Linked DNA regions of Homo sapiens: region 1 is linked to region 2. The links are contacts of gene promoters, found by promoter capture Hi-C in blood cells and fetal thymus (Javierre and others, 2016). All regions are on one chromosome and are shown on one strand. The core of a region is centred on a gene start or on the middle of the fragment in contact, and the rest is flanking DNA. Distances in the headings are between cores, read along the strand shown. Region 1 holds the start of CCNI2 (cyclin I family member 2). Region 2 holds the start of RAD50 (RAD50 double strand break repair protein).

Region 1 (4,771 bases), core at 1,981-4,480, 190 kb after region 2:
ACTCCCGTATAGCTCTATTCCCTCCTCCTCTTTTTGTGCTATTATTGTTATATGGATTACATTTACATGTTATAAACCAAACAATACTTTGTTATAACTTTATGTTATAAAATTTTATGTATTTTAAATCTTCCAAAGTAGCCGAGAGAAGAAAACAGAGCCAAGTTTATATTTATAATTTGTAATATTAATCTTCTTATTATTTCTCGTTCTCTTCCTTGTTTCCTGTGGATTCAAGCTACCATCTGGTGTTATTAGCATTTTATATGATTCCATTTTCTCTCCTTTCTTAGTGCATATGAATTATACTTTTTAAAAACTTTTTTTGCTGGTTGCCCTAGAGTTGGCAATATACATTTATAACTAATTCAAGTCCACTTTCAAGTAACATTATACTGCTTTCCAGGTAATGCAGGTAACTTAAAACAAAGTATTCTTAATTCTTCCCTCTCATGGCTAGTATCATTATTGTCATTCATTCAACTTATCCATAACCTACAATCATCAAATACATTATTATTATTTTGAATAAATGATTATTAGATCAATTAGGAATAAGAAAAACAAAAGTTTTATTTTACTTTCACTTATTCCTTAAAGTTCTTTCTTTATGTCGAAATTTATGACCTATATCATTTTCCTTCTCTCTGAAAAATTTCTTTTAACATTTCTTGCAAAGCAGGTCTACTGGTGAGAAATACCTTCAATTTTGTTTGTAAAAGTATTTCTCTTTCACTTCTGAAGGATAATTTCACTGAATACAGAATTCTAGGATGGTGGGGGTTTTCTCTCAAAATTTTAAATATTTCACCCCACTCTCTTCTTGCTTGCATGATTTCCGAAGACAAGTCCAATGTGATTCTTATCCTTATCCCACCTTATCTTATTTCCACCTCATCCTACCCAGCTCCTGCTCCCAGCTTTGCTTGCTCTTTCTTTCTTTCTTTCTTTCTTTTTTCTTTTCTTTTCTTTTTTTTGAGATGGAGTCTCCCTCTGTCACCCAGGCTGGAGTGCAGTGGCATGATCTCAGTTTACTGCAACCTCCACCTCTTGGATTCAAGCGATTCTTGTGCCTCAGCCTCCTGAGTAGCGGGGACTACAGACATGTGCCACCACACCTGGCTAATTTTGTATTTTTAGTAGAGACAGGGTTTCACCATATTGGCCAGGCTGGTCTTGAACTCCTGACCTCAAGTGATCCGCCCACCTCAGCCTCCCAAAGTGCTGAGATTACAGGCCAGCTTCTTTTGAGATTTTTTTTTTTTAATCTTGATTTCCTGCAGGCTTTTTTCAACTTTTATTTTAGATTCTGGTATATTGTGCAATGCTGATATTTGGGGTATGAATGATCCTGTCACCCAGGTACTGAGCACAGTACCCCATAGTTATCCAACCCTTGTCCCCTCCTTCCCTCCCCGCTCTGGTAGCCTCCAGTGTCTACTGTTGCCATCTTTACGTCCATGTGTACTCAATGCTCGCTTAAAAGTGAGAGCATGTAGTATATAATTTTCTGTTCCTGTGTTCATTTGCTTGGAATAATAGCTTCCAACTTCATCCATGTTTGCTACAAAGGACATGATTTCATTCTTTTTAATGACTACATAGTATTCCATATTGTATATGTACCACATTTTCTTTATCCAGTCGATCACTGAAGGGCACCTAGGTTGACTCCATGTCTTTGCTACTGTGACTAGTACTGTGATGAACATGCAAATGTATGTGTCTTTATGGTAGAACAATTTATTTTCCTTTTGCGTATATACCCAGTAAAGGGACTGCTGGGTTGAATAGTACTGTTTTAAGTTGTTTGAGAAATCTCTAAACTGCTTTCAACAGTGACTGAACTAATTTACATTACCACCAGCAGTGTATAAGCATTCCCTTTTCCCTGCAGCCTCACCAGCGTCTGTTGGTTTTTGACTTTTTAATAGTAGCCATTCTGATTGGTGTGAGATGCATTACTCTGATGATTAGTGATGTGGAGCATTTTTTCATGTTTGTTGACCACTTGTATATCTCCCTTTGAGAAGTCTATTCATGTCTTTTTGCCTGTTTTTTGATGGGGTTGTTTTTTGCTTGTTTAATTAAATTCCTTACAGATTCTGGATATTAAGACCTTTGTCGAATGCTTACTTTGCTAATACTTTTCTCCCACTCTATAGGTTGTCTGCTGACTCTGTTGATAGTTTCTTTTGATTTTCTACGGTTTAAATAGGAATGTCTAGGTGTAGTTCTTGGCATTTATCTTGCTTAATGTTCTCAGAGCTTCCTAGAATTGTGGTTTGGTGTTTGGCATTAATTTGGAAATATTCATTCTCAGTCGTTATTGTTTCAAATATTTCTTCTGTTCCTCTCTTTCTTGTCCTTCTGGTATTCCCATATATTTTTAATATACATTTAATGTAATGAATTTTTTAAACAAAATATAACTTAGGAGCCAGGTGTGGTGGTGTGCACCTGTAAGTCTCAGCTACTTGAGAAGCTGAGGTTGAGGGTAGCTTGAGTCCAGGAGTTTGAGGTTGTAGTGTGCTGCGATCACACCTGAGAATAGCCACTGCACTCCAGCTTGGGCAACATAGCAAGATCCACCCCTAAAATTTATGTATGTATGTGTATACATATATATGATTTGTATGATTTTCCTTATTATACGTTTATAGCTATATATGTATGTATAGATACATAAACATATATGTATATGAATGAATCACCTTGTGAGGGAGGTATTATCACTTTTTTTTTCGGAGAAGAGGTAGCCAAGGCTCTGAGAGGTCACGACACATGCATGAGATCACACAGCGCGTCTGGAATTCCATTTCAAGCCTGTCTGAGGAGGGCGCTCTCGCTGCTTCTTTACCTGGTCTTGTGTCCCCAAGTGTGTAATGTGAGGTAAGACCCAGGGTCTGTGTCCGGGAGTCCTGGCCCAAGGCGGGCGCAGTCTCCAGCCGCCCCACCCCTGGCTGGGGGCTCTGCTCAGGGAGCACGGCCGGCAGGGGGGAGGAGGCGTGCGCTAGGCAGCAGCGGGGATGGAGGGAAGGGAGGGGGTCCGCCACCCGCCTGTGCGCGCCCAGTCCTGCCGCATCCTGGGTGCGCGCCGCCCACCCGCGGGGCGAGTGCCCAGGAGGCGAGGCGCGGCCCGGTGCGCCAGAGGTAGCTCCACCGCGAGCGTTGTGGGTGGGGCCCGCCGAGCCCGCCTCCCCACCTCCCCCGGCGGCGCCCCAGGCTGCAGTGTTCCGGGAGCTGGGTTATAAAATGCCGGGTTAAGCGGCAACTCAGACTCAGGATCCCGCTCACGACATGGCCTCGGGCGCTCAGCTCCCGCCGCAGCCGTCGAGCTCAGAGGTCAGCGCCGTCCAGAGCCCAGGCGGGCGTCCCGGCGCCGGTCTGGAGGAAACAGCCCTGGGCGTTCCTCTCCCGCCGTCTCCGGGGGAGGCCCCTCTGCCCCGAAGCAACCGGAGCAGGTGCCCTGGGACCCGCCAGCCCGGAGCGGCCTCCCTCCACGCGGCGTCCGCAGCAGTCCCCGTGCGGCCCCGGCGCGGTACGGCGCCAGCCGGGAAAACCGCAGACGCGGTCCCCGCCGCCGCCCCAGAGCAAGCTCCGCGGCCGGCTCCACAGTCCCGCAAGCCGCGCAACCTGGAAGGCGACCTGGACGAGCGCCGGCTGCTCTGCCACTTGCAGCTGGCCCAGGACCGCGAGGCGCGCCTGTGGCGGGGCGGCAAACCCCAGGTACCCGTCGCTGCCGCGTGGCCCTCCTCGCGCGTGCACGGCAGGCGGATGTGGCCTCCACCTGCACCCGCGCTCGGGTGTTCTGAAACTGGAGGCCGGGCCCTTCCCCAGGTGTGGCCCCTCACGAGAGGCACGAGGCTGGATCCACCAGCTTCTCTCTAGGAGGGCGTCTTGCTAGCAGGGCCTTCGGAAGAGGGCCTGTTTGAATCAAGGAACTCAGCCTACGACGAAAAGTGGGCGCGAGGGGTGGGGGTGATGGGTGAGCCGCTGCGCCGGGGGGCGCTTACTCCCAGCGGGCATGCAGAGGAAGGGACTTCTCACTGCCCCACCCCCCGCACCTTAAGCAGGAGGCTCCTGCTGCTGGGGGACCAGGAGTGGCCGCTAGCGACCTTCCTCGCCCCACCTGCTCTTCTTCCTAGCAGGATGAAATCTGCGACGCCTTCGAGGAAGTCGTGCTGTGGCTCCTGCGGCTTCAGAACACCTTTTACTTCTCCCAGTCCACTTTTAACCTGGCCCTCACCATCTTTGGCCGCCTCCTGATTTCAGTGAAGGTAGGGAGGCCTCTGAGGGACGGTGGCAGATGGTGAGAGAAGAAACTAACCTTTGCTCCCCATTCCTGCTTGAGAGGTGAGGGTTTCCAGATGCTCAAAACCAAGGTGTATAAACTAACTTGCTCCGAGTGGAAGAGCTGGTGTTGGAACCTCTCCACATCCTACACTGGCTGTCTCAGGGTCATGTAGTCATCAGGATTGGACTTGGGGAGCGTGAGAGGACCTAGCTGGGAAAGGGCTTCCTGTGTAATGAGGTAGGATGTGCTTGTCTCGACCTGTCGAGGGCAGCTTGAGGCTAGGATGAGACTGGGTTCCCTGAGAAGGTGCCATATTTCCCACCTCCAGTCAGTCCCGAAATGAAGGAATACTGCCCAGTCATCTGCAGTTCTGAAATCAGGAGCATCTTCGTTGGTCAGATCTAAAAACGGCACTAACATTCTGTCTTGTGGAGAAATTGAGCCTTTTAAAAATGGGAAAAAAAAGCTTATTAA
Region 2 (4,713 bases), core at 1,128-3,627:
TCAAATGGTACAACCACTGTGGAAAACAGTATGGCAGTTCCTCAAATAATTAAAAATTGAATTACTGTATGATCTAATAATTCCACTTCTGGGTATATACCCAAAAGAATTGAAAGCAGGGTCCAGAAGTGACATTTGTACACCAATATATATAGCCACACTATTCACAATAGCTAAAACGTGAAAGTAACCCAAATGTCCATCAATAGATGGATAAGCAAAATGTGATGTGTATTGTAATGAATCTTATTCAACCTTAAAAACGACCTGAATTCTGATATATGCTACAGTGGTCCCCAACCTTTTTGGCACCAGGGACCAGTCTCACGGAAGACAGTTTTTCCACAGACAGGAGTGGGGTGATGGTTTTGGGATGAAACTGTTCGACCTCACATCATCAGGCATTAGATTCTCATAAGGAATGGGCAAGCTAGATCCCTTGCATGGGGCAACCTACATCTTTCTCATGGGCAGTTCAAAATACGGTTTGTGCTCCTATGAGAATCTAATGCCCCCACTGATCTGAGGCCCAGCTCGGGTGGTAATGTTCACTCACCTGCTGCTCACCTCCTACTGTGCCACCAGGTTCCTAACAGGCCAGGTATGCATACTGGTCAGTGACCCAGGGGTTGGGGACTGAGCTGCAACATGGATGAACCTTGAGGACATTATAAGTGAAATGAGCCAGTCACAAAAAGATAAATACTGTATGATTCCACTTATATGAGGTACTTAGTAAAAAATTATAGAGACAGTAAGTAGAATGTTGGTTGTCAGGGTTTGGAGGATGTGGGGAGGAAAGGGTTATTGTTTAATGGGTAGTTTGTTTTGCAAAGTGAAAAGATTTGTAGAGGTTGAAAGGTGGTGACGGTTGTACGTGAGTATACTTAACACCACTGAAATGTACACTTGGTTAAGATAGTAAATTCTTTTTGAGACGGAGTCTCGCTCTGTTGCCCAGGCTGGAGTGCAGTGGTGCGGTCTCGGCTCACTGCAAGCTCCGCCTCCCGGGTTCATGCCATACTCCTGCCTCAGCCTCCTGAGTAGCTGGGACCATCGGCGCCTGCCACCATGCCCGGCTAATTTTTTGTGTTTTCAGTAGAGACGGGGTTTCACCGTGTTAGCCAGGATGGTCTTCATTTCCTGACCTCGTGATCCACCCGTCTCGGCCTCCCAAAGTGCTGGGATTACAGGCGTGAGCCACCGCGCCTGGCCAAGACAGTAAATTTTATGTGTATTTTACAATTTTTAAAATAAAAAAAGGTCTTTCGTCTTTTCCCATTGTTTTATTACATTTGCTTTGCCAAGTAAGACATTCCTATATAATTTTAATGTTTTGTTCCATTAGTTATTTTAACTATTTTGTAATAACTGACACTTTCCGGTTTTTTTTAACCTGGTACAGCAAGAGACTATTTCTCACTGGTCTTCCCCACTTGCATCCTTTGGCACATACATTTATGTATTAGGTTCTGTAAATTATTTGCTTGGGATTGTATGACTGGAGAAACATTTCCTACATTTTTCCAAGGCAGGCAGAGGCAAATTATACCACTACAGTAATTCCAAATTTGTGTTTCATTTAAATGTCCTCCACTATTGTTTCAGTAATTTTTATGTATGTTTCTCTAGGCCCTTAAATGTGATATCCCTCCATTAAGTTTGTTTCCAAGAAAGCAATATTCTCAGTTACTTCTGAGACAGGTAACTTCTCTTTCCCTTATTTTTAAAGATATCTATTGCTGGGAGCACTGATCGGAATGGATTACCTCTACATTCTTCATATTTGCAGACTGCTTTTAGTTTTAGTTCCCAGACTTTTGGTCTTAAAGACGCCTTTACACTAAAAAATTACGGGGGACCTCAAAGAGCGTGTACGTGAGTTATAATTATCAACATTTACTCAATTAGAAATTAAAATTGGTATTTCTAAGCGCAAGAATACACATGCGCACATTCCATTAACCGCCACTGCAATGGCGTCATCACATGTTATGTGATCACTGGAAATTACTACACGAACGTTAGAGAGAGAATGAGAATGAAAAGGAAAATAGTTTTGACACGAACTGACCCCGCTTCCTGGGTCTCCAATCCACCCCACCACTACCCCCATTCCAGGAGTCCCAGGATCAAGCTTTGGGAAGCGCCATCCGTCACAGGTCTTGGTCTCCCCTTCCAAAAGTCAGTGCCTCTCCAGGCTGCCCATCCCCAGCAAAGATCCGGAAGTCCGCTGCCCCTGGCAACAGCACCCAGCACCTAGCCCTCTGCTTCGCCGTACCGCACCCGGAAGTCGGAGCTGCGCACGCACCGCGGGACTCTGATTTCCCGGCGTGCCCCAGGAGAGCGGCGTGGACGCGTGCGGGCCTAGAGGCCCACGTGATCCGCAGGGCGGCCGAGGCAGGAAGCTGTGAGTGCGCGGTTGCGGGGTCGCATTGTGGCTACGGCTTTGCGTCCCCGGCGGGCAGCCCCAGGCTGGTCCCCGCCTCCGCTCTCCCCACCGGCGGGGAAAGCAGCTGGTGTGGGAGGAAAGGCTCCATCCCCCGCCCCCTCTCTCCCGCTGTTGGCTGGCAGGATCTTTTGGCAGTCCTGTGGCCTCGCTCCCCGCCCGGATCCTCCTGACCCTGAGATTCGCGGGTCTCACGTCCCGTGCACGCCTTGCTTCGGCCTCAGTTAAGCCTTTGTGGGCTCCAGGTCCCTGGTGAGATTAGAAACGTTTGCAAACATGTCCCGGATCGAAAAGATGAGCATTCTGGGCGTGCGGAGTTTTGGAATAGAGGACAAAGATAAGCAAATTATCACTTTCTTCAGCCCCCTTACAATTTTGGTTGGACCCAATGGGGCGGGAAAGACGGTAAGTCTTCAGTAGCCGCCTTCAGTTTACAGGTCGCTACATCTTTCGGAGAATAAAATGGGAAGTTGAGAACTCTCCTTAGGAGCAGAAGCGTCCCTAGGGCTCCACAGGTGTAGGCCCTTAAAGTGCCTTAGGGTGTGGCCTGCAGGCTACAGCGACCTTAGGAGTTTGCCTGAAGCAGTCTCGGAAGGATGTCCGGACCTGGCCTGGGGACAAGGTTTACTTAAGAATCCCACGATACCGGGAGCTGTCGCCGCTCACTCAGAGTTCAGTTCCCACTGGATGCCCTTTGGTCTGTATTGATGTTTTTAACGCTGTCTCCTTGCTTTCAAAGCATAGCATTCACTTCCCAGTAGTTGTCCCATACAAGAATTCCTTTAAAAGTTATAAAATGATACATACATGACTAAAGAGTTTCCAAGTATGCCAACTGTCCAGACATAATACATGGAAAATAAATAAATTCAAAATGTAACTGATGTAGTGGGGCTTAACTTGGAAAACTTCTCTTCTTAAAACTCAGTCAAAAATTTAACGTTGGTGCACGACTGACTTTTTTTTTTTTTTAAAGCCGTGGGAATATTTATAAATTTGAATGGAAAGAATAACCAAGAGGCATTCTGGTCAGGAATAGTGGCTTAAGAAAAAGCAAGACGATGTCAGTATAGCAGGGAGAAGAGTCTAAAGGAAGGATTTGTGAAGAGTGTAGAAAGAGAGAAGGTTGAGAATTGAATGCCAAACTTGTTTACTTTTGTTTTTGTAAAAATGTTATTTGTTGAATGCTTGTTATGTACTTAGGATTGTACTAAATACTAGCAGAAGGGAGAGTAGTACTGTATAGTGTTTATGAGGACTGGCTGCCTCAATACAGCTTTTTCGCTTCATTTATTAGTTGTCTGATTGTTTGCGAGTGACCTCACTGCTCTGTGCCTTAGTTTTCTCATTTATAAAATGGAGATTAAAAATAGTTTCTACAGCTGGGCACGGTGGCTCACGCCTGTAATCCCAGCACTTTGGGAGGCCGAGGCGGGTGGATCACCTGAGGTCAGGAGTTCGAGACCAGCCTGGCCAACGTGGCGAAACCCCATCTCTAATAAAAATACAAAAATTAGCCAGGCGTGGTGGCGCATGCCTGTAATCCTAGCTACTGGGGAGGCCGAGGCGGGAGAATCGCTTGAACCGGGGAGGTGGAGGTTGCAGTGAGCCGAGATCACGCCATTGCACTACACCAGCCTGGGTGACAGAGGGAGACTCTCTCCCCCCACAAAAAAAAAAAAAAAAAAAAAAAAGTTTCTACAGGCTGGGCATGGTGGCTGACGACTGTAATCCGAGCCGTTTGGGAGGCTGAGGCTGGGGGATTGCTTGAGCCCAGGAGGTCGAGAGGTCGAGGCTGCAGTAAGCCATGATCATGCAGCTGCACTGCAGCCTGGGCAGCAGAATGAGACCCTGTCTCTTAAACAAAAAGTTCCTACAGCCTGGAGTTAATGTGAGAATTAAATAAATGTATGTAAGAGTGCTTAGTACAATACAGTACTTAACTGTTAGCCATTCTTATTATTAACTTAAATTAGTTTAAAGGGTTTCAGTTGAAAATAATTATTTTTTTCCCAAGTAACAATTCTTCATATTAGGATAACTTCTTAGTTATATAGCATTTCTGTGAACTTACAGCATTAACACTTAATCATATTTTTATTACAGGTTTTATAATGTCAGATTTTATCTTTTATAGTTTCCATGATAAATAATATTTTTGTAATGAATTCATATTTTATGGTAAACTTCTGTGGTTCTCTTATAACGAAATAATGTAATTTTCTATTTCTTTAGACCATCATTGAATGTCTAAAATATATTTG

Evidence for each region. Contacts are between HindIII fragments. The CHiCAGO score rates a contact against its expected background, and 5 or more counts as called.
Region 1: a contact is called between the fragment with the promoter of CCNI2 here and the fragment with the promoter of RAD50 in region 2, in 1 of 17 cell types (fetal thymus). The highest score is 5.7, in fetal thymus.

The regions. Positions count from the first base shown.
Region 1 is chr5:132,744,196-132,748,966 of GRCh38, forward strand. CCNI2 (cyclin I family member 2) reads left to right here and starts at 3,231. Exons shown (of 6, transcript NM_001039780.4): 1 at 3,231-3,729; 2 at 4,152-4,280. The coding sequence starts at 3,301. RefSeq lists an enhancer at 2,714-2,793 and silencers at 2,884-3,303, 3,314-3,383, 3,404-3,593. The HindIII fragment of the contact is 9,894 bases long and covers 1-4,761 here.
Region 2 is chr5:132,554,600-132,559,312 of GRCh38, forward strand. It overlaps RAD50 (RAD50 double strand break repair protein), which reads left to right and starts at 2,378. Exons shown (of 25, transcript NM_005732.4): 1 at 2,378-2,854; 2 at 4,685-4,713. The coding sequence starts at 2,726. It also overlaps a transcript of IL5 not described here. RefSeq lists an enhancer at 2,001-2,661. The HindIII fragment of the contact is 3,439 bases long and covers 2,136-4,713 here.